Linked DNA regions of Homo sapiens: regions 2, 3, 4, 5, 6 and 7 are each linked to region 1. The links are contacts of gene promoters, found by promoter capture Hi-C in blood cells and fetal thymus (Javierre and others, 2016). All regions are on one chromosome and are shown on one strand. Each heading gives the region's core, a stretch centred on a gene start or on the middle of the fragment in contact. The rest is flanking DNA. Distances are from core to core; before and after follow the strand shown. Region 1 holds the start of ZNF669 (zinc finger protein 669). Region 2 overlaps AHCTF1 (AT-hook containing transcription factor 1). Region 3 overlaps AHCTF1 (AT-hook containing transcription factor 1). Region 4 overlaps ZNF496 (zinc finger protein 496). Region 5 overlaps AHCTF1 (AT-hook containing transcription factor 1). Region 6 overlaps ZNF496 (zinc finger protein 496). Region 7 overlaps AHCTF1 (AT-hook containing transcription factor 1).

Region 1 (3,531 bases), core at 732-3,231:
TTCCGGGAACCAAAGAGAATACTTTTTTACCAGATAGAACAAAGATGGGAGATTTTGGGTACTCACAATTACCCCTCCGCGGCGCAGTAACTGCCGGACAAGGCTTCAGTAATTAGCAAACTTACTCTCAGCCTGACCCATAGTTTCCGGAGGTTACCCTGGAATTTTCCGAGCGCCCTACTTACCTGTAGAGCTTGAAGTGAAAACGTACTCGGGCGTCCTTTGTCAGTCATCCTCCACTTTCCACTCTCTGGCATTCCTTCACTGGATTATTTGTAGAGATTACCGGGAGCCCGGCGTTGGGCACCAGAGACCAGCCTGGGCAACTGAGGGAGACCCCATTTCTACGAAAAAAAAAAAAAAAAAATTAGGCAGGCGTGGTGTCCAGTGCCTGTAATCCCAGCTACTCCATGAGAGATTGGACAAAACCTGGGACCAGAGACTGATTTTCTTCTAAAATGCTTTCTCCAAAATATTTTTAAAAGAAAAGGGGGAAATTGGAAAGGAAAATGTTTTGAGCCCCCCAGATCACTAAGCTAAAGGGGAAAGTCAATCTGGGAACTGCTTAGGGCAAACCTGCCTCCCATTCTATTCAGAGTCATCCCCTGCTCACTGAGATGAATGCATATCTTATTGCCTCCTTTGGAAAGGCTAATCAGAAACTCAAAAGAATGCAACCGTTTGTCTCTCACCTACCTGTGACCTGGAAGCCCCCTCCTGGCTTCGAGTTGACCCGCTTTTGCTTCAGGTTGTCCCGGATCAAACCAGTGTTCATCTTACATATGTTGATTGATGTCTCCTGTTTCCCTAAAATGTATAAAGCTGTCAGATACAGTCAGTTTCTCTTCCAAGGTTTGGCATGTTAACTTTCTTGTTTTTTTGTTTTCGAACTCAACTTTCTTGTTCTCCATGCCTCCTTGCCCTTAGTTACTGTAAACAACCTTCCGTCAGTTCTAATCAATAACTCACATCTGTTCCCTTGGTTACCTGCTCTGCACCCATTTCTCCCTTGGAAACCGCAAGTCCCACCATTGTAACTCACATCCCCCTTCCCCCTTCCTTATTTGGGAAAATATTCACAAATAGCCAACCGGGTCAGTTTAGATCGTGCGGTCTGACCCCAGCCCATGCCAGAGGTAGGGACTGCGTTAGGAATAAAAACCCCTGCTTTCCTCTGTTCAGTGTGCTCTTGCGATCGTGATTGATGCGAGCAGCACGCTTCTGCAGAAGTAAATTGCGTTGCTGAGAAAACTTTCGCTTGAGTGCTGGTTTCACTTTGCGGCACCGAGCATTTCTCTCCAACAAAACCAAGCTGTGCTCTGACCACCTTGGGCACATGTCATCAAGGACATCCTGAGGCTGTGTCATGCATATGCATCCCCAACCTTGGCAAAATAAACGTTCTAAATACTCTTACCCCAAATGCTCAGGGAGACTGATTTGAATAATCATAAAACTCCAAGCCTGCACTCCAGCCTGGGAGACAGAGCAAGATTCTGTTTCAAAAAAATAAAATAAAATAAAAAAACTCCGGTCTCCCGCACAGAGGACACTGCGTGAATTACTCTTTCTCTATTGCTATTCCCCTGTCTTGAGAAATCGGCTCTGTCTAGGTAGCGGGCAAGGTGAACTCCCTGGGCAGTTACAGAACTGTCATTATATTGCTTCCAATTTTATATATATATATATATATAAAAGGCACAAATAGCTATAACTTGTATACAGGTTAAATGTGAATGTCCTTCTTGCATGGTCGGATCCCAGCGCAGGAAGGACGCACCGCCTACAAACCGCTAGGCCAAAAGCGGTCATTCTGACCTCATCCAGCCTCACGTGAGATCGCAATCTCCTGTCACTCAGGGCCTGAGGGGCGGGGCCTGAAGCCCCATCCAATCAGGGGCGCTGGGGTGGGGACCGTTCAATCAGGCGCGCCGCCGGAAAGGAGAGGGCGGCTTCCGGGATCTGCCTGGCGGTTGCTTTGTCTCTCCTTCGCCGGAGCCGGCTCTTCCTGTTAGTCTCCGCTGCTAGTTCTTGGCTCTGGGAGGCCCAGGTGGCTCTGCAGCAGCCTCTGCCACCCTGTGACCTGCGAGTATTGGGACATCCCTAGCTGACGCCAGGACACCCGGGAAGCCGAGGAATGGTGAGTGGACTGCGCCTGGCTTCCCGAAGTGGAGAAGAGGGCTGGTTGAAACCTGCTGTGGCGCGACTCGGGCCTCCACGCCATCGGCTCCGGAACCTGCGGACCGAGTCGCCGTGGCGTAGCCGGGGCTCAGTCCTCTTCTGTTCAGGGCCGGGCCGGGCGGGGCGGGCAGCGGAACCCCTGCATCCTGTCTGTACCTGCGGGCGCCACTTCCGCCGGCCGGAGCCCTGTCGGGAACCCCTCGCCTCCCCTATCCAGGTAGTGTGGTGACCACGGGAGGGTGATGCGGGAGAGCCCCGACTCGGTGTCTCGGTGTGCGGGGTTCCAGCATGGGAGGAGCTGTGGTTCATGGGGCTTCCAGTCCCACCTTTCTTCCCCTAAAATTAAGCCGAGGCTTTGTTAAAACGTTAAACCGTGTGTTTGAGCAAACGGCGATTCATAAACCAGGTACCGCAGTCATGGTTTGTGGTTTGGGGTCCACAGAAGGGGCGTAAATGAGAGGCTTTGATAAGGTTAATGAGGAAGCAAACCATATTCTTTTTTTTTTTTTTTTTTTTTTTTTTTGGAGACGGAATCTCGCCCTGTCGCCAGGCTGGAGTGCAATGATGCAGTCTCACTCATTGCAACCTCTGACTCCCGGGTTCAAGCGATTCTCCTGCCTCAGCCTCCCGAGTAGTTGGGATTACAGGCGCCCGCCACCACGCCCAGCTAATTTTTGTATTTTTGGTAGAGACAGGGTTTCGCCATGTTGGCTAGGTTGGTCTCGAACTCCTGACCTTAAGTGATCCGCCCGTCTCGGCCTCCTAAAGCGCTGAGATTACAGGCGTGAGCCACCGCGCTCGGCCAAAATATTTTTCTGTTTACAAACATTTTACATGAGAGGAAAGCGGAGAATAAACCATCTGACACTCTACTGTAAAAAAATCTTTGTGCCTCTCTTCATCTTTCCTAAGTGTGCATATTACCAAAATGTCTTTAGGTTGATGTCCCCCTGTGAAAACTTTACAGGGTGTTGTGTCCTCAGCCCTTGGTCTGCTTGCTCATCTCTCTGCTAATACTGTGCTGTCCTGAATATTTTTGGTTGAAAATCTTAAAAGTATGTTAGGCAAGACATAACTCTTTTTTTAGATGACTGAAAATCATTAGACATTTGTCATTTTTACTAGGTATGAAAAACTAGTTTTTCTTGCCTAAAAAAGCCTGATTTGGGAATTTATGTGATTTCACAGGAATAGCATCTGGAAGTGGTGACATTAATGTCATTTTAAAAAACATGTGCCATATTTCCTCTTATTCCATTCTGCCTTGACATTGTGCAATAGAAATTTAAAAATTGTATTAGTAAATTGTTAAATATCAATTATTGGTTTTATTTACTACTCAATTAAATT
Region 2 (3,531 bases), core at 437-2,936, 240 kb after region 1:
TTTCAATAGGTATGTTTTCTTACACGTTTCATAGTCATGCTGCTTGTTAATCTTTACTGGACATCAACAGCGTTCATCAACAATCCACTCTCTTTGCCTAAGTTTATTAGTGTATGTAAAAAAGAAAAACTCTTTATGTTGGCTATGTTTCTGAGAAGAATTTTTAAAAACCTTTAAAAGTGAAATGTTCATTATTATTTGTAAGCAATGCAGAACTGTACAAAGTAAAACGAATGAAAACCCTCTGTTCTCCCATCTCATCCACTTGTTATCAGTGCTCCTTGTGATACATCAGAAGTTAAATTTTTATTTTCATAGTTCTAAAATAGAAGAACCATCTCCTATAGTGTATTCGCTCCCAGCTCCAGAGCTGCCTGAGGCATTTTTTGGAACACCAATTTCAAAAGCATCACAAAAAATTTCTAGGTAAGAGTTTATTAAATCATTCTTAGAGACACAATGTTAGATGATAGTTACAATTGTAATTTTTAATTATCTTTAACATTTTATAGACTTTTAAATTATTAAATGAATATTTTAATGTTTGCTTTTTATTATACTTTGGGCAGCAGTAATTTTAGGAAATTTTACATCAGGTAGTAGTATACTTAAAATTTTTGTTCAATAATTTCAGACTGCTTAGTGGACAGGAGTGAAGTTTGTCTCATGAGCAAACTATTAACTTACTTTCCTTGTTACCTGCTTGTTAGTAGACCTCTAAATGAGGGTTGTTTTTATACTTAATTACAGATTAATCTTGGGTAGCTCATTGAAGCTTTCTTCTGTTGAACAGTGCCTACTAAAATGTCTTGTGTTGCTTCAGATGCAGCACGTTTACATCTTACCTGTGGTGTTAAGTTGAAGTTTTGTATCCAAGATGAAATTGTGATTGCAAGTATTTACTTACGAGCATTGGTTAGTTGAAAAGTGTTCATAATTATGTACCACAGAGAACAGAGTATGTCTCTTCATGTATTGATTCTTTGTCCTTAATATGCCCAGGATCTTTGGAAATTTTTGATTGTTTTATCAAAGACAAAATTACATTGTTTAAAGTATTTATAATGATTATAAATAATCATTACAAGACTCTGAATTTTTGATGCTAAGAAAAAGATACTTGAGATAAGGTCATACAAACAACTGAGGCCAGAAGTACAGAGTGTAGTTTAATGGACATATGTTAAACCTTGAAAGGATTTTTCTTTTTTTGGACTAAATTTAGTTAGGTTGTTTCCCTTTATTTACTCTGGTAAGATGGTATTTTAAATGGAAAGAAGATATTTTAAATGAAAGTCGTTATTACCGACATTCTTTTTTTCTACCAATAGTTCGGATTTTTTTTTCTGCAAGTCCCCTTTTCTTGGTCTTTTTGTAATTTAATGGCTCTGAGGTTGCGGGGAGCAATAATAGAAGTTGAAAGGCCTTTGATTAATGGCCTGAGGCCCTTAAAGAAGTATTATGAGCATTTTTTAAAGCCAGTGTTAACTCAGATGTAAGAGAGCCAGTTGAGTTTTGAATATTTACCTTCTGTGTTTTTCATGCTGAGTTTGCATTACTGGGTAGACAGTATAGCCTGCAATGAAATAAGGCAGAATAGATAACATCCGTGGGTACATCATATAGTAAGGCTGAAGTGCTAATTTATGTAATTGATGTTTTATTTTTATGTGATATAGGATGCATTCTTTATATGGATTATGGTAAAAAAAAATTAGCTCTAACAAGTAAAAAGTTACATAAATCAATTTTTTAAATACCACTATAGATTTTTGAAAATAACCTTGCAGATAGTAATGAAATCAGAAAAGGTTAGTTCTGAAAGAATATTTGGTCTCAGGGTTGAAGACCTGAGACCTAATGCAATATTTAACATTTCATTTAGAAAATACCTTAAAAAGATTTCTCAGAACCTTTAAACTATTAAGTCTTGATGATACAGAAGTTTTGCTTTGACTTGGTAGGTAGCTTTTGTTGCACAGTCCTTGCTTTTGAGAAGCATTCATTCATAAATAGGTGCCTTAAACATAAATATTAACACAATGCAAAACATTTAACAGTGTTCCTTTGGGATAGCTCAGTATAAAAGTGAGCAAACTGTTTTCCAAGTTTGGATCGAATCCAAGTACAGAATTTAAATGCAAACAAGATAGAGAAAGAAGAGAATCTAGAAGAAAAGAAATGTCTAGCAGCCTGATTGGATATTCTTGGTTTGGTGGAAATCTAAAAGCTGTGTTTGATACAGAGTAACAAGTGGGAAGACATTGAAATATTTCCCCATTATCACCTGTGTTGGTCTACCGCTCCTAATAGCAAAACTCTCATTTGATAGATAGAATGACAAGGAAGGTACTGCAACTACAAGTTTTTATTTCTGGGCTCCAAAGCATACTCTCCTTTTCTGGTTATTCTCAGGTGAGCCACTTTGGCATTTGGGGGAAATAAAAAGGGATTGTTTTTACCACTAGGAAATACAACCATAAGATAGACTGTTTATTAGGAAATCGAGAAGAGAGTGACCTGTGCAAATGGTCCACCAAAAATTACCACCTGAAAACCCGACTTTTGAGTTTAAATTTATCTGTAAATTAAGCTTTAAAACTTACTTGGATTATACATGCTCAGTACAAGTAATCAGTGGGATCAGTTTTATCATTGGGACTAGGACATTACGGAAAACCTTGTAGTAGAATCTTAAAGTTGTACTTTGTCACCAAACTCATTGACTTGAAAAAATTAACTTTTGGTTGTGGTGGTGGGTGTGGGTTGTCAGTCTAGTCTTTTTTTTTTTTTTTTTTTTTTTTTTTTTTTTTTTTTTTTTTTGAGACGGAGTCTCGCTCTGTCGCCCAGGTCGGACTGCGGACTGCAGTGGCGCAATCTCGGCTCACTGCAAGCTCCGCTTCCCGGGTTCACGCCATTCTCCTGCCTCAGCCTCCCGAGTAGCTGGGACTACAGGCGCCCGCCACCGCGCCCGGCTAATTTTTTTTTTTGTATTTTTAGTAGAGACGGGGTTTCACCTTGTTAGCCAGGATGGTCTCGATCTCCTGACCTCATGATCCACCCGCCTCGGCCTCCCAAGTCAGTCTAGTCTTTATTGTAATCAGAACCATAAAGGCAAAATGAACCAATATTCATTATATATATTACATGTAGGTGAATGGATATTTTGCATGTTAATGAATTTTAGTAAATAGATTGCCAGGGAAGCCTTGTCCTGTTTTCTTTAGTATTTTAAATCATTGGCAGTTCATCTTCATTTGAAAATAAATGCCAGGCACATAGTAAGAGCTCAGTAAATATAGGTAAAGGGAAGGAGGACGACGCAAACTCTTTTTAAAAATCAGTTGCTATGTGCAGTTCTTAATTCTGTTTTGCGATGAATAATTTTCTGACTTTTTGAATGCATGGTAGCACTTTGGATTACATTAATATACTTGACTGTATTTGCATGTGGCTATCATAGTTACCAGTGAATATAGAGGTCTGATTAAATGGGATACTAAATTCTTTTGTTTTTTCAGTATAACTCAA
Region 3 (3,531 bases), core at 653-3,152, 220 kb after region 1:
TAAGTAAACAACTGATGTTAACTCTTCTTTACAGGACTGATAGACTTAAGCAATAAGTTTGTGGTTTCCCACCTCATCTGTCAGTATGCACAAGTGGTTCTTTGGTTCTCTCATTCTGGGCTTTTACCAGAAGGCATAGGTAAAATATTTACTTAATCTATAAGTATTAATTAAAACATTCTGAATCTTTATAATTTTGTTATTGTATTCTAATGCTTTGGGTTTCTTTTCTTCCACCTCACTTATTTTTCTCCTTAATTTAATTTATGCTTAACCTTCTTTTCTTACATTTTTCCTTACTTTGTATCTTCATCCTATGCCTGACACACAGTGCTCATACATGTTTATTGGATTGAATAACATTTAGAAGGAAAGCAAATTTGAGAAAACATAGCTCCTGAAAATGAGTTCAGCAATATTACTAGCTATTATTTAGATCCATAGAACTATAGTTTCTATAACTCAGTTTTCCTGTTTCCTGGTAATGGTCCTTTTAATATGGTTACTGACTAATATTTCTTCAATTAAATACCCCCTTTTATCTAGTGATTTATGCCAGTACCAACAATAAGATAATTTTTGGTATTTGACTTGTGCTATATTTGTTTAGAATATAACTTGCAAAGCCTTCAGCTTCTTGCATTTCCAGGAAGCCATTAGATTTTATTTAGAAGTGCCTCTGCCACTGTACATAATTGTTGATCTTATTTTTTCATAATTCTCTTAGATTTTGATTTGTAGTGAACATTTCTTGCTTTCAAATTATTATTTGTGCCTAAGGAGTAAAGTTATTTAGAACAGTTTCCAGGATTTTAAGCCCCCATCCATGTAGTTAGACTTTCATGACAGATCATTTTCTCACTTGTGCCTCTGTAAATAAAAAGATGTGTAGTAATCTTTTATTACCTAAATATACCCACCCTGTGGGTTAACCAGGGGTTGCTGTAAATATTAAATTACAGTAAAATATTAATATGTATTGTTGAGATATTTGGGGATTATTACCAGCTTTTTTTCCAACTCTTAAAAATCTAGATGATTCTGTGCAGTTGTCAAGGTTATGCTACAACTACCCTGTAATTCAGAACTACTACACCAGTCGTCGACAGAAGTTTGAGCGTTTATCAAGGTATAGTAAAACAATTTTAGAAATTACATCTGTAAGAAGTCAAAGTTTCTCAGAATAGTGTTCATCGTTTTACAAAGTGATTAAATGGGTAGAATTCTCAGTTAAGTATCAGAATTTGCTATTACCATTACTATTTTATTTCTCTTTTTTAAAAAAGTACACGAATAACCTACTTAGTTCCTTTGAAATGAAGTAAAGGTAATAGACAAAGAAAGTGGTGTTGAGAGTCTTGACCACACTTCTGGAAATAGTCGTCTTCCTCGAGTTGCAGTGACAAAATTACAAAGCATATAACATTTAGAGCAGTGCCACAAACGTTGATTCCAGGTTTCTTACACCTGAATCACCTGGGAATCAGTACTTTAAAATCTGTGCCGGCTGTAATTCTGATGCATGGCAATTGTGGGAACCAGTGCTTTAGAATGACCAATTTAGGAGAGTGAACATTAGCTTGGGAGATTGACTAGGCATATTTTAAAATTCTAGATCTGTTATTTCCTAAGTGTATATCCTTGGCAGCTTTGTTATGCTTTCTAATCCTGCTTGTTATATAAGTTATAAAGTCAGTATAAAGCTAAATAAAATAGTATGTGCAGGACATCTAGTGCAGTGCCTGGCTCATTGGACAACCGCAAAGAGTAGTAAGTGCTGCCGCTATTCACAATTAGAAAAGGAAATCAGGGGAAAAAAGAAGAGAAAAGAAAAGGAAATAGGGACCATACCTGCACGTTGCATCATAGGCACTCAGCAATAGATATTCGAGTGAAGGAATCACTGAGGATAAAAGACTAACCCAAGTGATGAAACAGAAACTTTAACTCTCTGTCTTTGAACTTCATTATTTTCACTACGCTGGGCTTTATGGTAGTTTGCTTAATATGGTGAAAAATAGAATGGTCACTGGCTGGATGGACCACATGGGGACCTCACCTTGACTGACTGGCTTGTTGATGACTGAACTTGAGGCAAATTAAGGGCTTATCCGACTAACTCTCCTTGATGTCTGTAGTTCTCATCATGCTAACTAGGGTCAAATTCCCAATTCTCTCCTCTCTCTCTGTTTTTAGAGACAGGGTCTCTGTTGCCCAGGCTGCAGTGCAGTGGCATGTGTATAGCTCACTTTAAACTCCTGGGCTCCAACGATCCTCCTTCCTTATCCTCCTGAGTGGCTAGGACTACAGGTGCACACCACCATGCCCAGCTAGTTTTTATATTTTCTTTAGAACTGGGGTCTTGCTGTATTGCCCAGGCTGGTCTCGAACTCCTGACCTTGAGTTGATCCTCCTGCCTTGGCCTCCCAAATCACTGGGATTACAGACATAAGCCACCATGCCCAGCCTCTTCTCTCTTTGATAGTTGGGATTATTACTTTTAATATTTTGATGCTGGTTGCTTTGATATTAATTAACAGTGATATTAAATAAGTCTTAATTTTTCCCTGATTGCAGAGGGAAGTGGAATCCCGATTGCTTGATGATTGATGGACTGGTTTCTCAGTTAGGAGAGCGAATTGAGAAGTTGTGGAAACGAGATGAAGGAGGCACAGGAAAATATCCTCCTGCTAGTCTGCATGTAGGTTTGCAGTAATGTGCTATCATTTAGAGTCTACAAAGCTGGGGAGGGAGGAGACATGCTTAGCTGTGTGTCTGGCACAAACTTGGGAAAACAAGAAGCATGAATGAATGAATGACTGTATAAGATCCACTGAAGGTTTTATCCCTTTGTTTTATAGGCAGTACTTGATATGTACCTATTAGACGGCGTTACTGAAGCAGCCAAACACTCTATTGTATCCTTTTAAGTTTTATCCAGTGTTTCATGTATTACTAAAATTATAAAATTTCAAGAGTAGTGGAAACCTGACATATCTAATTGCAAGGTTGAATTTTGGTTTTGTTTTCTTAAGAAGAGGTGTTAACCCAGGATCTGTTGTTTGGGCTCAGATGGCCTGTGATCAACCTAAAACTATATGAAAAATTTTGTTTTTTATTTGTTTTTCTAGGTATAGGGTACTTGGCTTTTATCAGACACTTAAATGTGTCCAAGACACTCAAAAAGTTAACAACAGTTGCTCTAAAATACTACCACCAAGTGGTCACTATCAATGGCATTAACCTCTGTGCTGGAAATGAATACATTATAAGTTAGCGTGATACTACCTTAGGCATTATTTGAGTCCTATAGTCTTTGTGATAATATTTTTGTGCTAATGTTAGTTACTTAGTCTAAAAATGTATAATTCCATTTATAATTTATAAGCTAGATGATGTTTGATTAAGCTGCCATCTTTTGCTAGATCTTTAGAAATTTGCGTATATCTTTGTTTCTTGTATTTACTGAGCTACTGACTTCATAAAAATACGCTTTATCTCCTTTGTGGTGCTGATAATAAAATACTGAGA
Region 4 (3,531 bases), core at 281-2,780, 210 kb before region 1:
GTAATTCTATGGAGCTTCATTCAGGTTGTTGCGTGTTACTATTCCATTGCTTTTCGTTGCTGAGTAGTATTCCATCACATGGAAGTCCAACAGTTCGTTTAACCATTCACTGGTTGAGGACTATCCGGGTTGTTTTGGGGTCATTATTGTATAAAGCTGCTGTAAATATTTGTGTGCAGGTTTTTATATACACATCAGTCTTCATTTCTCTGGGATAAATGCCCAGGTATGCAATCGTTGGTAAGTACAAAAGTTGGTAAGTTTTGTAAGAAAGTACTCTTATCTGATGTTAATATAGCTTTTCTTCTTTCTTTTGATTAATAATTGCATAATATATTTATTCCATCCTTTTACAGTCAACCTGCTTATATTATTATATCTGAAGTAAGTTACTTTTAGATAGTATATATGTGTTGTTTTATTTTGTTTGAGGCGGAGTCTCACTCTGTCACCCAGGCTGGAGTGCAGTGGCGCGATCTCAGCTCACTGGAGCCCCCATCTCCTGGGTTCAAGCAGTTCTCTTGCCTCAGCTTCCCGAGTAGCTGAGACTACAGGCGCGCACCACCAGGCCCGGCTCATTTTTGTATTTTTAGTAGAGACAGGGTTTCACCATGTTGGCCAGGCTGGTCTTGAACTTCTGACCTCACGTGATCCACCTGCTTCGTCCTCCAAAAGTGCTGGGATTACCGGTGTGAGCCACTGCACCCGGCCTAGATAGTATATATTTGGATAATGTTTTCTAATCTACTCTGCCAGTTACTGTGTTTTGATTGATGTATGTAGACCATTTGTATTTAATGTCATTACCGACATGTTAGGGCTTAAGTTTGTCTTTCTGTTTTTCTGGCTCTGTTTCTGTTTCTCTGTTTCCTTTTTCCTATTTTTCTGTGTGTTACTTGAACATGTAGAATTCCATTTCGATTTACCTAGTGTGGTGTTGAGTGTATGTATATTTTTGTATAGCTTTTTTAGTGGTTATTCTAAGTATTACATTATATATACATAACTTATCTACTGAGTATCATTTTATCAGTTTGAGTGAAGTGTAGAAGCTTATTTCCTTTGTTCGGGCACCGTGGCTTGTGCCTATAATCCCAGCACTTTGAGAGGCCAAGGTGGGAGGATTGCTTGAGCCCAGGAGTTTGAGACCAGCCTGGGCAACATAGCGAAACCTTGTCTCTACAAATAATAATTCTAAAAAAATTAGCTGGGAATGGTGGTGTGCTCCTATAGTGCCAGCTACTTGGGAAGCTGAGGCAGAAGGATTGCCTGAGCCCAGGGGGTTGAGGCTGCATAGTAAGCTGTGATTGCATCACTGCACTCCAGCCTGGGTGACAGAGTGAGACCCCATCAGAAAAGAAAAAGAAAGAAATATAATATACCTCCTTTTACATACCCTCATCCTTCTTCCCCATTATAATGCAGTTGTTTAAATATTTCCTCTACATACATTTAGAACCGCATCATAGAGTGTTGTAATTTGTGCTTCAACTGTCAAACATTATTCAGAAAACTCAAAAGGAAAAAGAAAACCTATTTATTACCCATATTGTGGCTTACTGTTTTCTTTCTTCTTATGTTCCAAGGTTCCTGCTTTTTGTTTAGAGTGTTTCTTTAGCCATTCTTTTAAGATAGATCTGCTGGTGATAGACTTACATATTTTTTCCTCATCTTAGTAGGTCTTCATTTCCCCATCATTCCTGAAGGATGTTTTCACCAGATGAAAGATTCACACTTGACAGTTTTCTTTCAGCACTTGAAAAATATTATGTTACTTCCTTCTGGCCTCCATGGCTTTTGATGAGAAATCTGCTGTCATTCAAAAACTTTTTCCCTGTAAGGAAGGTATTATTTTACTCTGGCTACCTTTAAGATTTTTTTCTTCCTTTGCCTTCAGTTTTCAGAAGTTAAATTATGCTGTGTCTTGTTATGGATTTCTTTAGATTAACCTGTTTAGAGTTTGCTCAGCTTCTTACATTTCTAGGTTTATGTCTCTTTCCAAGCTTGGGAATTCTTAAGCTAGATTTTTCTAGTACTTTTTTAGTCCCTCTCTCTTTCTCCTCTCCAGACTGCTAAGGATACAGGTTTTAGATCTCTTGTTAGAAACTGTGTAATTTATAAAGGTACCTGAGACTGTTCATTTTTTTTCAGCCTGTATTCTCTCTGTTGTTCAGATGGAATAACTTTATTTTTCCGTCTTCAAGTTGACTGAGTCTTTCTTCTGTCCCCTCCTCAGCTGAGCCTATTCACTGAGCTTCTTATTTCATATTGTGGTTTGTACTGTTCACATTTCCAGTTAGTTATTTTCTGTATCTTCAGTTTCTTTGCTGAGACTTTCTGTGTCTTTACAGACACTTTCTATTTTTTCGTTTGTTTGGAGTGTGCTTATAATTGTTCATTGAAGCATTTTATGACAGCTTCTTTGTCAGATAGTTCTAACGTATCTGTCACCTGAGGGTTGGCATCTGTTGGTGGTTATCTTTATTCATTCAGTTTCAGATCTTGGTATAGTGAGTGATTTTCTGCCTGCATATTTTTATATGATGAGACTCTGGACCTTAACTTCGGTGTGGCTGGTTTTGTTTGGTTGTGCAGTGTTGTTTTTGACATAGCTCCAGCAAGAGAAGGGCAGGTGGGCCACCACTTGTTATTACCTGGTGAGAGAACGTCAGGTTTCCTCCTGGATCTCCGCGGGCATCAAAGTGGGGATGCTCCTCATACACCCGAGTGGGAGTGGAGTTCCAGCTCCCTACATGGTCTCCACTGGTGGCGGGGGGGGGGCTTGTTCTTAGCTAGCAGGGATGGAGGTCCCAGCTCCGCATTTGGCCTTCTCTGAGACCACCCCAGCAGGGGTGTTAGGGCACCTCATTGCACCTGGTGAGGGTGGAAGTCTAGGCTCCCCAGTCATTCTCTGCTGGTGTTGGTAAGAAGGGGCCACAGTTTTCTTATGTGGTATTAAGTGGAGTAGAGCAGTTATTACCTGTTTGGCTGGGCTGCCCCTGTCCAGGTCCTGTGGCTTTTGTTGGAGCTTTTTTTGGTCTGTGCCCATGGGTATTTCTTGGTAGCTGGCTCCTTCGGCTTCAAGTCAGGGGAATATGTGGTAGAAAGAAAAACCAGTGAACTTAGCACATACTGTTCCAAGGTCCCTGGCCATTCTGCCACCCTCTCTCCACCTTTCAGAGTCTCCTGTGCTCATTTTATATGCAATGTCCAGGGTTTTCATTCTACTTAGTTGGGAAGCATTAGAAAAATCTCCTCTGAAGATTTAATCTTAAATAGACATGTTTATCTATCTTGCCCATCCCTTCTCGTGAAAAATTAACAAAATGTAGGAAGTGAAAAGATACCACTCATCCCCAGTCATGTGAGAAGATTCTGCATGGTCTAGTGAACTTCCTTCTGGACTTTTCTCTGCCAATTTATTTGTGTGCCTCACAAATAAATCGATCACAAATAAAAGGATCCCGCTGTAGATCAATGTCCTGTTTTTATGCTCCTCCCCAGCATGTAAGCATTGGTCCATATGGTTCT
Region 5 (3,531 bases), core at 634-3,133, 200 kb after region 1:
GATAGATAGATAGATAGATATAGATATATATAGATATAGAATTATCTGTTTAATATTTTTGGACTTTGGTTTACTACAGGTAACGGAAATTGGAGAGTGAAACTGTAAATAATGAGAGGGAATACTGTAATGCCAAAATTATAAAACCTTACTTTGAGCTAATTGTTTCATTCATTAAGATTCTTTTTTTTTTTTTTCTTTTGAGACGGAGTCTTGCTCTGTCACCCAGGCTGGGGTGCAGTGGCTCAATCTTGGCTCACGGCAAGCTCTGCCTCCCGGATTCACACCATTCTCCTCCTGCCTCAGCCTCCCCAGCAGCTGGGACTACAGGCGCACGCCGCCATGCCCGGCTAATTTTTTTTTTTTTTTTTTTTTTAGTAGAGACTGGGTTTCACCGTGTTAGCCAGGATGGTCTCAATCTCCTGACCTTGTGATCCGCCCACCTTGGCCTTCCAAAGTGCTGAGATTACAGGCGTGAGCCACCGTGCCCGGCCTAAGATTCTTGGATAAGTCCCTTATTTCATTAAGGGCTGCAAAATGATGATTTTTATGTTCTGTCAATGTAAAGAATAATTTTCTCATTAATTAGGGCTTTCTGGTCACTCTGAAACACAATGTCTACAGAACAGGCAGGATAAATGTTTAGTGTTTCTTAAGTACTAATTTTCAGAGTAAGCAGGTGATACCTAGTTACTCCAATTGTTCAATATAAGGTCTTTTGTAGGTGGGGAGGGTAGGCTTCCCCCTTGCCCCACCCCTCTTTTTTTTTTTTTTTTGTATCCCTGTGAATTTTTCAGGTTTGGCATATTTAATGTGTTTCATTAATTTTATTGTTTTTGATGCCCAAAATGTCCTGTCATTGGTAATGAGAGCCCCTTCATGTTGTCTGATACATTCCCTTTCATCTGTGATAGCTTCCTAGATTATTGGCATAAGATGTACCAGGCTCATTTTATGTATTTTCTTCCCCCTGACCCGGAATCAGCCATTGCTCCAAGGAAGGTATTTAGGTAGTAGTTCTAAATTTCAATAAAGAAATAAATCAGTTTTATTTATGGTTGTTAACCCTAAAAAAATTCTATCTTAGATAATATTTGAGATGTACTGAGAGAATTTTTAAATATTATATAATTGAATGTGTTTTTTAAATTGTGGCATTTAAATAGATAAGGATGGCAATTTTCTAGTTTAACATACTTTTTTGTTATCACTAATCTTTTAATTTCAATTAACTTCATTTAACTCAGTTGACTTCATTTGCAGCTTGAATAATGGATGACATATTTGCTTTTAATGCTGTTTCTAGTTTTTTAACTTCATTTGTCTAATTTGTGGTTTTAGATCTTGAAGTTCTAACTGGTATCCCAGCTGAAGTACCACACATTAGAGAAAGTGTAATGAGACAAGGGCGCCATCTGTGTTTCCAGTTAGTAAGTCCAACAGGAACAGCTGTTTCAACTCTTAGTTACATAAGCAGGACAAATCAGCTTGCTGTAGGTTTTTCTGATGGCTATCTAGCACTTTGGAACATGAAAAGCATGAAAAGAGAGTAAGTATAACTTTTTTCCCTTATTTGATTATAGGTAGTTTTTTTGCATATAGCTTGTACTCATTTACTAATATTTGAAAGTTAGCATAGTGAGAAAAGGGTGGGTAGATTAATGATTGAATGAATGATTGAGATGACTAATTTTTCATGGCATTAAATCAATGTGAATACCATAAAGGAGTGACTTAGCACATGAATTTAGCTTTATTTTTTTTCAGTGTTTATTTAAAAGGCATTACAGTCATGTGTTTAACATGCTAGTAAAGCATGACTTTGTAACTTTACAACGTTTTGGTCAACAACAGTCCTTATGTAAGAAAGGGGTCTCATAAAATTTTACTGTATTTTGATTGTACCTTTTTAATGTTTAAGATACCATTGTGTTATAGTTGCCTGCAGTATTCCATACAGTAACATGCTGTACAGGTTAGTAGACTAAGAGCAACAGGCTATACCATCTAGCCTAGGTATATAGTAGGCTATCTCATCTAGGTTTGTGTTACTAGACTGTATGATGTTTGCACAATGACTGAATCCCTGACGAGCATTTCTCAGAACAGATCCCCTTTTGTTAAGTGACACATGGCTGTGTTTGTATAATATGAGTTCTTTCAGAAGTACCTTCCTAATCATCATCTGTGTAAAGTAACAGCTTAATAAAGAATTCTCAGTTGAGAGGGAAAAAAAAGGATTTTTAAAAATCAAAGTTACAAAATACTTGTGTTTTAAATTTTTTCTGCTGTCAAAAAGTCCCCAAAATATAATTATATTGATACTTTGTAGCTAAGTTAATTTGTGTTAAGCGTTAAATAGATGCCTATTTGGCCCTTAAGTTGTCAATTTATTTGTTTCTCCATTTTTCCTGAGGCATACTGGTATATTTTATTGAGTAATTTATCTTATAGGAAGTGTATCTCAACTCTCTTTGCTGTTATCCTTTTATCAGCTCTTTTTTTTCTATTTTTTTGGGGGGTGGGGTCTCACTCTGTTGCCCAGGCTGGAGTGCAGTGGCACGATCTTGGCTCACTGCAACCTCCACTTCCCAAGTTCAAGTGATTCTCCTGCCTCAGCCTCCCAAGTAGCTGGGATTACATGTGTGCACCACTGAACCCAGCTAGTTTTTGTATTTTTTTTTTTTAGAGACGGATTTTCACCTTGTTGGTCAGACTGGTCTCGAACTCCTGACCTTGTGATCCACCTGCCTCAGTCTCCCAAAGTGCTGGGATTACAGGTGTGAGCTACCACGCCCGGCTGCCAGTTTGTCAGCTCGTCTTTGAATTTGCTCCTAAAGAAATACCTGCAGTACCTGGCTTCTACAGCAGTGCTTTCTCTAACACTATCATCTCTTGGTCAATTTTTGCTTTTTTAGCAGTTTATGGGAACTCTTCAGTTTCTAACTCATCTTCTGTTGTAGTAGTGGGGAAACTGATGCTAAACCCAAACAGCTGAAAAGTCTCGTGGCAGTATCTCGTCTCTTTGTAGGGCATCTTTTATGGTTGAGCAGTATGTAGGAGTGTACATCAAATATGACTCTTAGGACCAGTTTACACAGACATGAATGCATCCACTTGAGTAATTCTAACACTCCCCAGTTCTACCTCTTGGGCATTGAATATGACTCTTAGGACCAGTTACACGCACACATAAATGCATCCGCTTGACTGCATCTGAGTCTTCCCAGTTCTGTCTCTGGGGGATGGGTGCCATGACCATAGTCTTGATGTCTTGTGCCGTGTGTATTTTTGCAGATAAGATGACTTGGCCATGGCCCACAGATCACTTATTCTGGGGAAGTGTAGGAACAGTGGTTGCCTAACCCAAGTTCTTACATGATGTACCTTTTTCCTTTCTAAAAAATAACTTAAAAATATGAAATATACTAATTTGTTTCAGATATTACATACAATTGGAAAGTGGACAAGTTCCTGTATATGCTGTCACTTTTCAAGAACCTGAGAATGATCCTCGGAATTGCTGTTACT
Region 6 (3,531 bases), core at 732-3,231, 200 kb before region 1:
AAGAGAAGAAAGGGTAATGGGTCCCAAGCAAGTCTTAAATCTAGCAGGTCAGGGCTAGGTGTGGTGTGGCTCGTGCCTATAATCCCAGCACTTTGGGAGGCCGAGGCAGGCGGATCACCTGAGGTCAGTAGTTCGAGACTGCACTGGCAAAAATGGGGAAACCCTCTCTCTACTAAAAATACAAAAATTAGCCAGACGTGGTGGCACACACCTGTAATCCCAGCTACTCAGGAGGCTGAGGCAGGAGAATTGCTTGAACCCAGGAGGCAGAGGTTGCAGTGAGCCAAGATCATGCCATTGCACTCCAGCCTGGGCAGCAAGAGCGAAACCCCATCTCAAAAAAAAAAAAAAAAAATCTAGCAGGTCATTTCCATGGGATTTTAAGGCTCAGCAATAACCTCTGGCTCAGTTCTCTGTTCTCCAGGCCCAGCAGGCTACTGGCCCTGCTCTTTGGAACTCAGAAGGAAATGACTTCACCTCCTGAGCCTGTACTCTCTGGTCCCATGATGACAGTGGCAGTCCTGTAACCTCTGAGCCACCTTTGGAGTCATTCTTCCCTTTTCTTGAAGGATAGTACATATTCATAGCCAGATAGATCTATCGGCCAGTTTGTAGAATCCCAGAAGTCCTAGCCTTCTTTTATTTCATCCCATCTCTTTTCCTTTCAGTTCCAGCTGGCAGTGTTTCTGCTGGTATATAATACTCAGAAACCCTGCCCTCCATGCAGTCCACAGGGTTGCAGGCCGTCAGACGAGGGTGTCCTCCATAGACCTTCCTGGATAACCTCATCTCTGTTCCTGGCTTCTGTTGAGATGGTTGATTGGATCCGTGAATCATACCCAGAATCTCTTTAACAAATGATGAGCCAGCCACACTCTTGGTGTCTCTCCAGTGCACGCTTTCTTATTTTTTGCCGTATGGATAGACAGAATTTTCCAAATCTTGAAGTCATGGTTCCTTTTTGCTACAACAATTCCTTCTTCAGTTTATCTCTCTCATCTCACGTTTCACTATAAGCGGCAAAAAACTAGTCTTTGCCTTTGACACTTTGCTTCGATACCTCCTCAGCTCAGTATCCGAGTTCCTTACTTACAATTTCTGTTTCCACAGAACAGTTGAATATGGTTTGGCCAAATTCTTTGCCACTTTATAATTGGAGGATCTCCTTTTCTCCAATTTCCTATAACGTCCGTATTTCTACCAGCCACTTCCTCAAGGCTTTTTAAACATGCACTTCAGAACTCTCCTGGCCTCTCCCCATGACCTAGTTCTAAAATCACTTCGACAGTTTTTGGTCTTTGTTTTAGCTGCACCCTACTTCCTGGTGCCAAAGTCTATGTTAGTCTACTGTGGCTACCATAACAAGGTACCACAGGCTGGGTGACTTAAACAACAGAAACTTACTTTCTTACAATTCCAGAAGCAACAAGTCCAGAATCAAGGCTTCAGCAGAGCTGGTGTCTTCCAAGGCCTTTCTCGTCTTGGAGACGGCTCCCATCTTGCTGTGTCCTCACAGGGTCCTTCCCTCTGTTGAAGTCTGCCTCCAGTCTCCTCCTCTTAGAAGACCAGTGATTTTGGATTGGCCCCACCATCTGACTTCATTTTGACTTAATTACTTCTTGAAAGACCCTATCTCCAAGTAATCACATTCTGAGGCTCTATGGGTTAGGGCTTCATCATGTAAATTTTCAGGGGGACACAATTTCGCCCATAACATGCACTGTCTGCTCTCATAATTCCATCTCCTCGCCCAGTTAACAAGTAAGAGATCTTAGCGGTCCACCTTGTCACTTTGTTTTCTTCTTCCACCCAAGTCCATTAACAGAAGTCAACTGCTGATCAAGTACCTTGTCATCGGCAGCCTGGTAAAAGTTACACCTTGCTCTTGTCTCCACCCCATGAGGTCCACAAAGTACATCATACACATGACCTCACCTGCCCCACCAGCAGCTTAGAGCAACGGGCTGCCACTGTCATTCTCACCTTGTAGACGAGATGACCCAAGCTCAGAGAAGCTGTCTGGCTGGAACGAGGTTCCTGCAGCTCGAAAACCAAGAGTCGAGATAAGCGTCAAACATAGCCTCTCGGCGGGCGCAGTGGCTCACACCTGTAATCCCAGCACTTTGGGAGGCTGAGGCAGGTGGATCACCTGAGATGGGTGGCTCGCTTGAGCCCAGGAGTTTGAGACCAGCCTGGGCAACATAATGTGACCCCATCTGTACAAAAAATTAAAAACACATGCACACACACAAACACAATCTCTGTCTTCATCTGATGATTTCCCTCCTATACTACGTGGGTTCTTGGCAGACTCAGTACCCACTCCCAGACTCATGTTCCCCCGACCCCCTTGTGACTGAGGGACAAATGCCCCCTCCGCTTCCACCATTGCCCTTTATCTCTCTGCTCTCCATAGCCTCTGTGTCTTCCTGCCCTGCTTCTGTTTGTCCAACTTCTCCTGTCCTGAGCTGCTCTGACTAGCCAGGGCTCTCCTCCCCACAGTCATGAAGCCCAGACTAACCATGTTCCTACTCTTATCTGGGAGGGCCTGGTTCACTCCCCCCAAGTTCTAGATTTGAGTTCTACATTTCACAGCAGTGAGGAAACAGGCCACCTGTATGGTGGGCTCTGCTCCATAAGCCGGGACCTCAGGCCGGGCTCTGCACTGTCCACCCAGCCCCGCCCCGTGGTTCCACCTTCCCAACATCACAGACTCAGGATGCAGGAAGTCCAGAGCAGCTTTATCCATCACCACCTGTGGCCTCAGAAATGCGGTGCTACTGGGAGCCGGGGAGCTGTGGGGGACCCAGGACTCTGGGCAGTCTGGGACTGTTGAGCAGCCTAGCAAGGCTGAGTAGCATTTCAGCCCTCCTTCCTGGCACAGATCACCTTAGTTTATGTGTAAACATGGCAACCAATAGGTCATCGGGTTGCGTCCAGGAGCAAATAGGAATGTGCATGTCAAGTCTAGCACAGTCCCTGGAGCATGCAAGTGCCCAGCACATGATATGTGTAGGTTGTAGAGTCTTCCTCTCTCAAGTCCTTTCACTATCCTGATAGAGCTTTCCCCCATGCCTTGTTAAGTGCATGATCTGTAAATGGTCAAGGCTTTACCCAGATAAATACAGACTCCTAGAGCTTGGGGGGATGGGGTGGTCTCCGTGGGTAGAGAACAAAAGGGTTGGGGGTGGAGATAAGGGAAAATGGCTGGGAAGAGGGAGAGCAAGGTGCCCAGCATGCTCTGGACACAGCGGGGCCCATGCTGAAGATTTCTTCCTCACAGGCTACACCAGTGGCCCCTGCAGGGCTGGCCAGGCCGCCCCGGTCACCGAGGACCATTGTAAAAACACGGGTTTGTAAACTCCAAGCTGAGTGTTCCTCCGCCGCGGTCATAGGGGCTGGGATGTGGCCTGTGCAGCGTCGCTGACCTGCATGTTGCCTTCCTGTAGCTGGCGGCAACCCGCGATCTCTAGAGAACAGCCTGGATGAAGAAGTGACCATCGAGATCGTTCTCTCCAGCTCTGGGGACGA
Region 7 (3,531 bases), core at 90-2,589, 180 kb after region 1:
CTCCCAGGTTCAAGCGATTCTCCTGCCTCAGCCTCCTGAGTAGCTGGGATTACAGGCGCACGCCACCACACCCGGCTAATTTTTGTATTTTTAGTAGAGACGGGGTTTCACCATATTGGCCAGGCTGGTCTTGAACTTCTGACCTCGTGATCCGCCCGCCTTGGCCTCCCAGAGTGCTGGGATTACAGGCGTGAGCCACCGCGCCCGGCTGGTACAGATATATTTTAAGAGGAAGCAAAACGTTGTGTCTTTCACGCCTACCTTTAATATTTTCAGGGACTTTTCTTTCTTCCCAGAATGAAGTGTAACTTCCCTCGGTTAGCTCAAAGGTCTCTACAATAAGTATATGCTACTGTCTATCCTCATATGTTAACAAATTTTATGCTTTTGCTATTCCAGAATCGTCATCAATCCTGGACTCATTCTGTGGAAGAGATGTTTCCACTCTGATGTTTCTTTGCTCATGTCCTTCATCCTGGAGTGCCATCTTTCCTTTTTTAAATACTCAAATTTCAGGTCCTCCTTCTAAATCCAATGTTTTCACTGTATTTTTATTTTTATTTTTATTTTTTTGAGACGGAGTCTCACTTTGTAGCCCAAGCTAGAGTGCAATGGCGTGATCTTGGCTCACTGCAACCTTCGCCTCCAGGGCTCAAGCGATTCTTGTGCCTCAGCCTCCCGAGTAGCTGGGACTACAGGAACGCGCCGCCACACTCGGCTAATTTTTTGTATTTTAGTAGAGACGGGGTTTCACCATGTTGCCCAGGGTGATCTCGAACTCCTGAGCTCAGACGATCTGCCCACCTCGGCCAACCAAAGTGCTGGGATTACAGGCGTGAACCACCGCACCCAGCCCACTGTACTCTTTTATTTCCCCTTATCCCACTTTTTTACTGGGATCTCACAGCATATGTACCTCTATTGTAGTAGCATTTATTCTTTGTGTCTGATACTCTGATAATTGACTATATATCTCCTTTTCTAGATTGTAAACTCCTTAAAGTCAGGAAGAAGGTTATCTTCTTGACCTTGCATTCCTTTACTAACACGGTGTTTTAAAAGTAGTTTGTGATTTTAAAATGTTTGAATTAAGTTGGTAAGAAATTTCTGAAAGGCTTGAAGTTTCTGGGTCCACTGGTAGTTTACATTTAAATGACAATTCGTCTTTTTATTAGTCAAAAAGAAAAAAAGTACCATTGCATACAAAGTGGTTTATAGAAATGTTTGCTTGGTACATGTTGCAATATAATTGTTGAACTAGATTAGAGTTCCATTTTCTGTGGTGGAATTCAGTTACTGCAGGAATTTGTGTATTTCACACAGAAAACTGATTTATAGTATTCTGTTTTTAGTATCTGGCCTAGTAATTTTAAGAATTTTGTTTTGTTTAATACTGAACCAGTGTATACTTAAAAATAATTGGGCCCAATCTTGAGTTTTAAAAAATTGATTTTATTGTTTAACATGCCTATTTCTTGTCTCTGCTAGTATCCTAATAATATCCTGCTATACAGTATCCTGTTATCCTAATTTATTACATTTAGGACCTGTTAGTCCAAAGGCACTGTGACCTTGTCGAATGCCCAGGAATAAGATTTGGTGATTTTTGCCTTTTAGGAATTCATAGTGTAGTGGAGAAGACAGGCAAGCAGAAGTAATTTTTTTTTTTTTTTTTTTTTGAGACGGAGTCTCGCTCTGTCGCCCAGGCTACAGTGCAGTGGCGCGATGTCGGCTCACTGCCAGGTCCGCCTCCCGGGTTCATGCCATTCTCCTGCCTCAGCCTCCCCAGTAGCTGGGACTACAGGTGCCCACCACCACGCCCGGCTAATTTTTTTTGTATTTTTAGTAGAGATGGGGTTTCACCGTGTTAGCCAGGATGGTCTCGATCTCCTGACCTCGTGATCCACCTGCCTTGGGATTACAGGCGTGAGCCACCGCACCCGGCCGAACAGTATTTAATTTAATTAATTAATTAATTTTTTGGTGGCGGAGTCTTGCTCTGTCGCCAGGCTGGAGTGCAGTGGCGTGATCTTGGCTTATTGCAACCTCTGCCTCCCAGGTTCAAGCGATTCTCCTGCCTCAGCCTCCCAAGTAGCTGGGACTACAGCGCGCTACCGCGCCCAGCTAATTTTTGTATTTTTAGTAGAGACAGGGTTTCACCATGTTGGCCAGGATGGTCTGGGTCTCTTGACCTTGTGATCCGCCAGCCTCGGCCTCCCAAAGTACTGGGATTACAGGCTTGAGCTACCGCGCCCGGCCATGAACAGTATCTTCATTCAAAGCCAGTAGAACGTTCCTGCTCTGCCTATCTAGCCTTTGGAAAGGAATTGAAACTTAGTAAATTACTTTTTATAGGTTGCCAGTGCTGGCATGTCATAAAAGGCTGGGATTCTGTTTAATTTTGTACAGTACTGAACGTAGGTGTTTCATGTGTGTTTGTGTTTTCATATACCTTTATATGAGATATTCTTTCTAATAATATAGTTTTTCTTTTTGAGACAGTCAGGCTGTGTTGCTGAGGCTGGAGTGTAGTGGCACCATCTCAGCTCACAGCTACCTCCACCTCCCCGGTTCAAGCGATTCCCATGCCTCAGCTTCCCAAGTAGTCGGGATGACAAGCGTATGCAGCCGTGGCTGGCTGCTACATTTCTTGTTTTTAGTAGAGACGGGGTTTCACCATGTTGGCCAGACTGGTCTCTAACCAACTCCTGACCTCAGCCATTCTCCCGCCTTGGCCTCCCAAAGTGCTGAGATGACAGGTGTGAGCCACAGTGCCTGGCCTATTTCTTTCTTTTTTTTTTTTTGAGACAGAGTCTCGCTCTGTCGCCCAGGCTGGAGTGCAGTGGCACGATCTTGGCTCACTGCAAGCTCCGCCTCCCGGGTTCACGCCATTCTCCCTCCTCAGCCTCCCGGGTACCTGGGACTACAGGTTCCCGTCACCACGCCCTGCTAATTTTGTTTCTGTATTTTTAGTAGAGACGGGATTTCACCTTGTTAGCCAGGATGGTCTCGATCTCCTGACCTCGTGATCCGCCCGCCTTAGCCTCCCAAAGTGCTGGGATTACAGGCGTGTGCCACCGCGGCCCGGCCATACACTTTTGTTTGTTTTGAGACTTGTTTGTTTTGAAACGGGGTTTCGCTCTTGTTGCCCAGGCTGGAGTGCAATGGTGCAGTGTCGGCTGACTGCAATCTCCGCCTCCCGGGTTCAAGTGATTCTCCTGCCTCAGCCTCCCAAAGTAGCTGGGATTATAGGCATGCGCCACCACACCTGGTTAGTTTTCTGTATTTAGTAGAGACGGGATTTCACCCTGTTAGTGAGGCTGGTCTTGAACTCCTGACCTCAGGTGATCCACCCACCTCAGCTTTCCGAAGTGCTGGGATGACAGGTGTGAGCCACCGCGCCTGGCCCCTATTTCTAATAATAGAGTGTTTCGATGTTCTCTGTAGTGTGCTTAAATTGGAAAAGTCTTAAAACCAATTTTGCCCTATAGATTCAAAGGCTGTTAAATTTGAAAAACTTTATTAAACATT

The links. The method cuts DNA at HindIII sites, captures the fragments that hold promoters and counts their contacts. A CHiCAGO score of 5 or more calls a contact.
Region 2: a fragment that was not itself captured here is called in contact with the fragment with the promoter of ZNF669 in region 1 in 2 of 17 cell types (neutrophils and monocytes); the score reaches 6.1 in neutrophils.
Region 3: a contact is called between a fragment that was not itself captured here and the fragment with the promoter of ZNF669 in region 1, in 1 of 17 cell types (neutrophils). The highest score is 5.9, in neutrophils.
Region 4: a fragment that was not itself captured here is called in contact with the fragment with the promoter of ZNF669 in region 1 in 1 of 17 cell types (fetal thymus); the score reaches 6.3 in fetal thymus.
Region 5: a fragment that was not itself captured here is called in contact with the fragment with the promoter of ZNF669 in region 1 in 3 of 17 cell types (neutrophils, monocytes and M2 macrophages); the score reaches 8.9 in neutrophils.
Region 6: a contact is called between a fragment that was not itself captured here and the fragment with the promoter of ZNF669 in region 1, in 3 of 17 cell types (naive CD8 T cells, total CD4 T cells and M2 macrophages). The highest score is 5.9, in naive CD8 T cells.
Region 7: a fragment that was not itself captured here is called in contact with the fragment with the promoter of ZNF669 in region 1 in 11 of 17 cell types (fetal thymus, total B cells, naive CD8 T cells and 8 more); the score reaches 12.0 in fetal thymus.

Annotation. Positions count from the first base shown.
Region 1 is chr1:247,102,806-247,106,336 of GRCh38, reverse strand. It overlaps ZNF669 (zinc finger protein 669), which reads left to right and starts at 1,981. Exons shown (of 4, transcript NM_001142572.2): 1 at 1,981-2,140. The coding sequence starts at 2,138. FLJ39095 (a long non-coding RNA gene) reads right to left here and starts at 1,826. Exons shown (of 3, transcript NR_147502.1): 1 at 697-1,826; 2 at 186-344. RefSeq lists an enhancer at 1,736-2,030. The HindIII fragment of the contact is 5,762 bases long and covers 1-3,531 here.
Region 2 is chr1:246,864,139-246,867,669 of GRCh38, reverse strand. AHCTF1 (AT-hook containing transcription factor 1) reads left to right here. Exons shown (of 36, transcript NM_001323342.2): 25 at 1-9; 26 at 319-426. Among named protein-coding and RNA genes, the nearest start is that of AHCTF1, 66 kb to the left of the region's middle. The HindIII fragment of the contact is 1,818 bases long and covers 778-2,595 here.
Region 3 is chr1:246,887,564-246,891,094 of GRCh38, reverse strand. AHCTF1 (AT-hook containing transcription factor 1) reads left to right here. Exons shown (of 36, transcript NM_001323342.2): 16 at 35-139; 17 at 1,036-1,129; 18 at 2,578-2,701; 19 at 2,862-2,918. Among named protein-coding and RNA genes, the nearest start is that of AHCTF1, 43 kb to the left of the region's middle. The HindIII fragment of the contact is 4,757 bases long and covers 1-3,531 here.
Region 4 is chr1:247,316,821-247,320,351 of GRCh38, reverse strand. All of the region lies in intron 6 of ZNF496 (zinc finger protein 496), which reads left to right. Among named protein-coding and RNA genes, the nearest start is that of ZNF496, 13 kb to the left of the region's middle. The HindIII fragment of the contact is 951 bases long and covers 1,055-2,005 here.
Region 5 is chr1:246,905,569-246,909,099 of GRCh38, reverse strand. It overlaps AHCTF1 (AT-hook containing transcription factor 1), which reads left to right. Exons shown (of 36, transcript NM_001323342.2): 5 at 1,342-1,549; 6 at 3,443-3,531. Among named protein-coding and RNA genes, the nearest start is that of AHCTF1, 25 kb to the left of the region's middle. The HindIII fragment of the contact is 7,654 bases long and covers 1-3,531 here.
Region 6 is chr1:247,301,195-247,304,725 of GRCh38, reverse strand. ZNF496 (zinc finger protein 496) reads left to right here. Exons shown (of 10, transcript NM_032752.3): 10 at 3,450-3,531. Among named protein-coding and RNA genes, the nearest start is that of ZNF496, 29 kb to the left of the region's middle. The HindIII fragment of the contact is 5,941 bases long and covers 1-3,531 here.
Region 7 is chr1:246,926,451-246,929,981 of GRCh38, reverse strand. All of the region lies in intron 1 of AHCTF1 (AT-hook containing transcription factor 1), which reads left to right. Among named protein-coding and RNA genes, the nearest start is that of AHCTF1, 3.7 kb to the left of the region's middle. The HindIII fragment of the contact is 4,526 bases long and covers 1-3,531 here.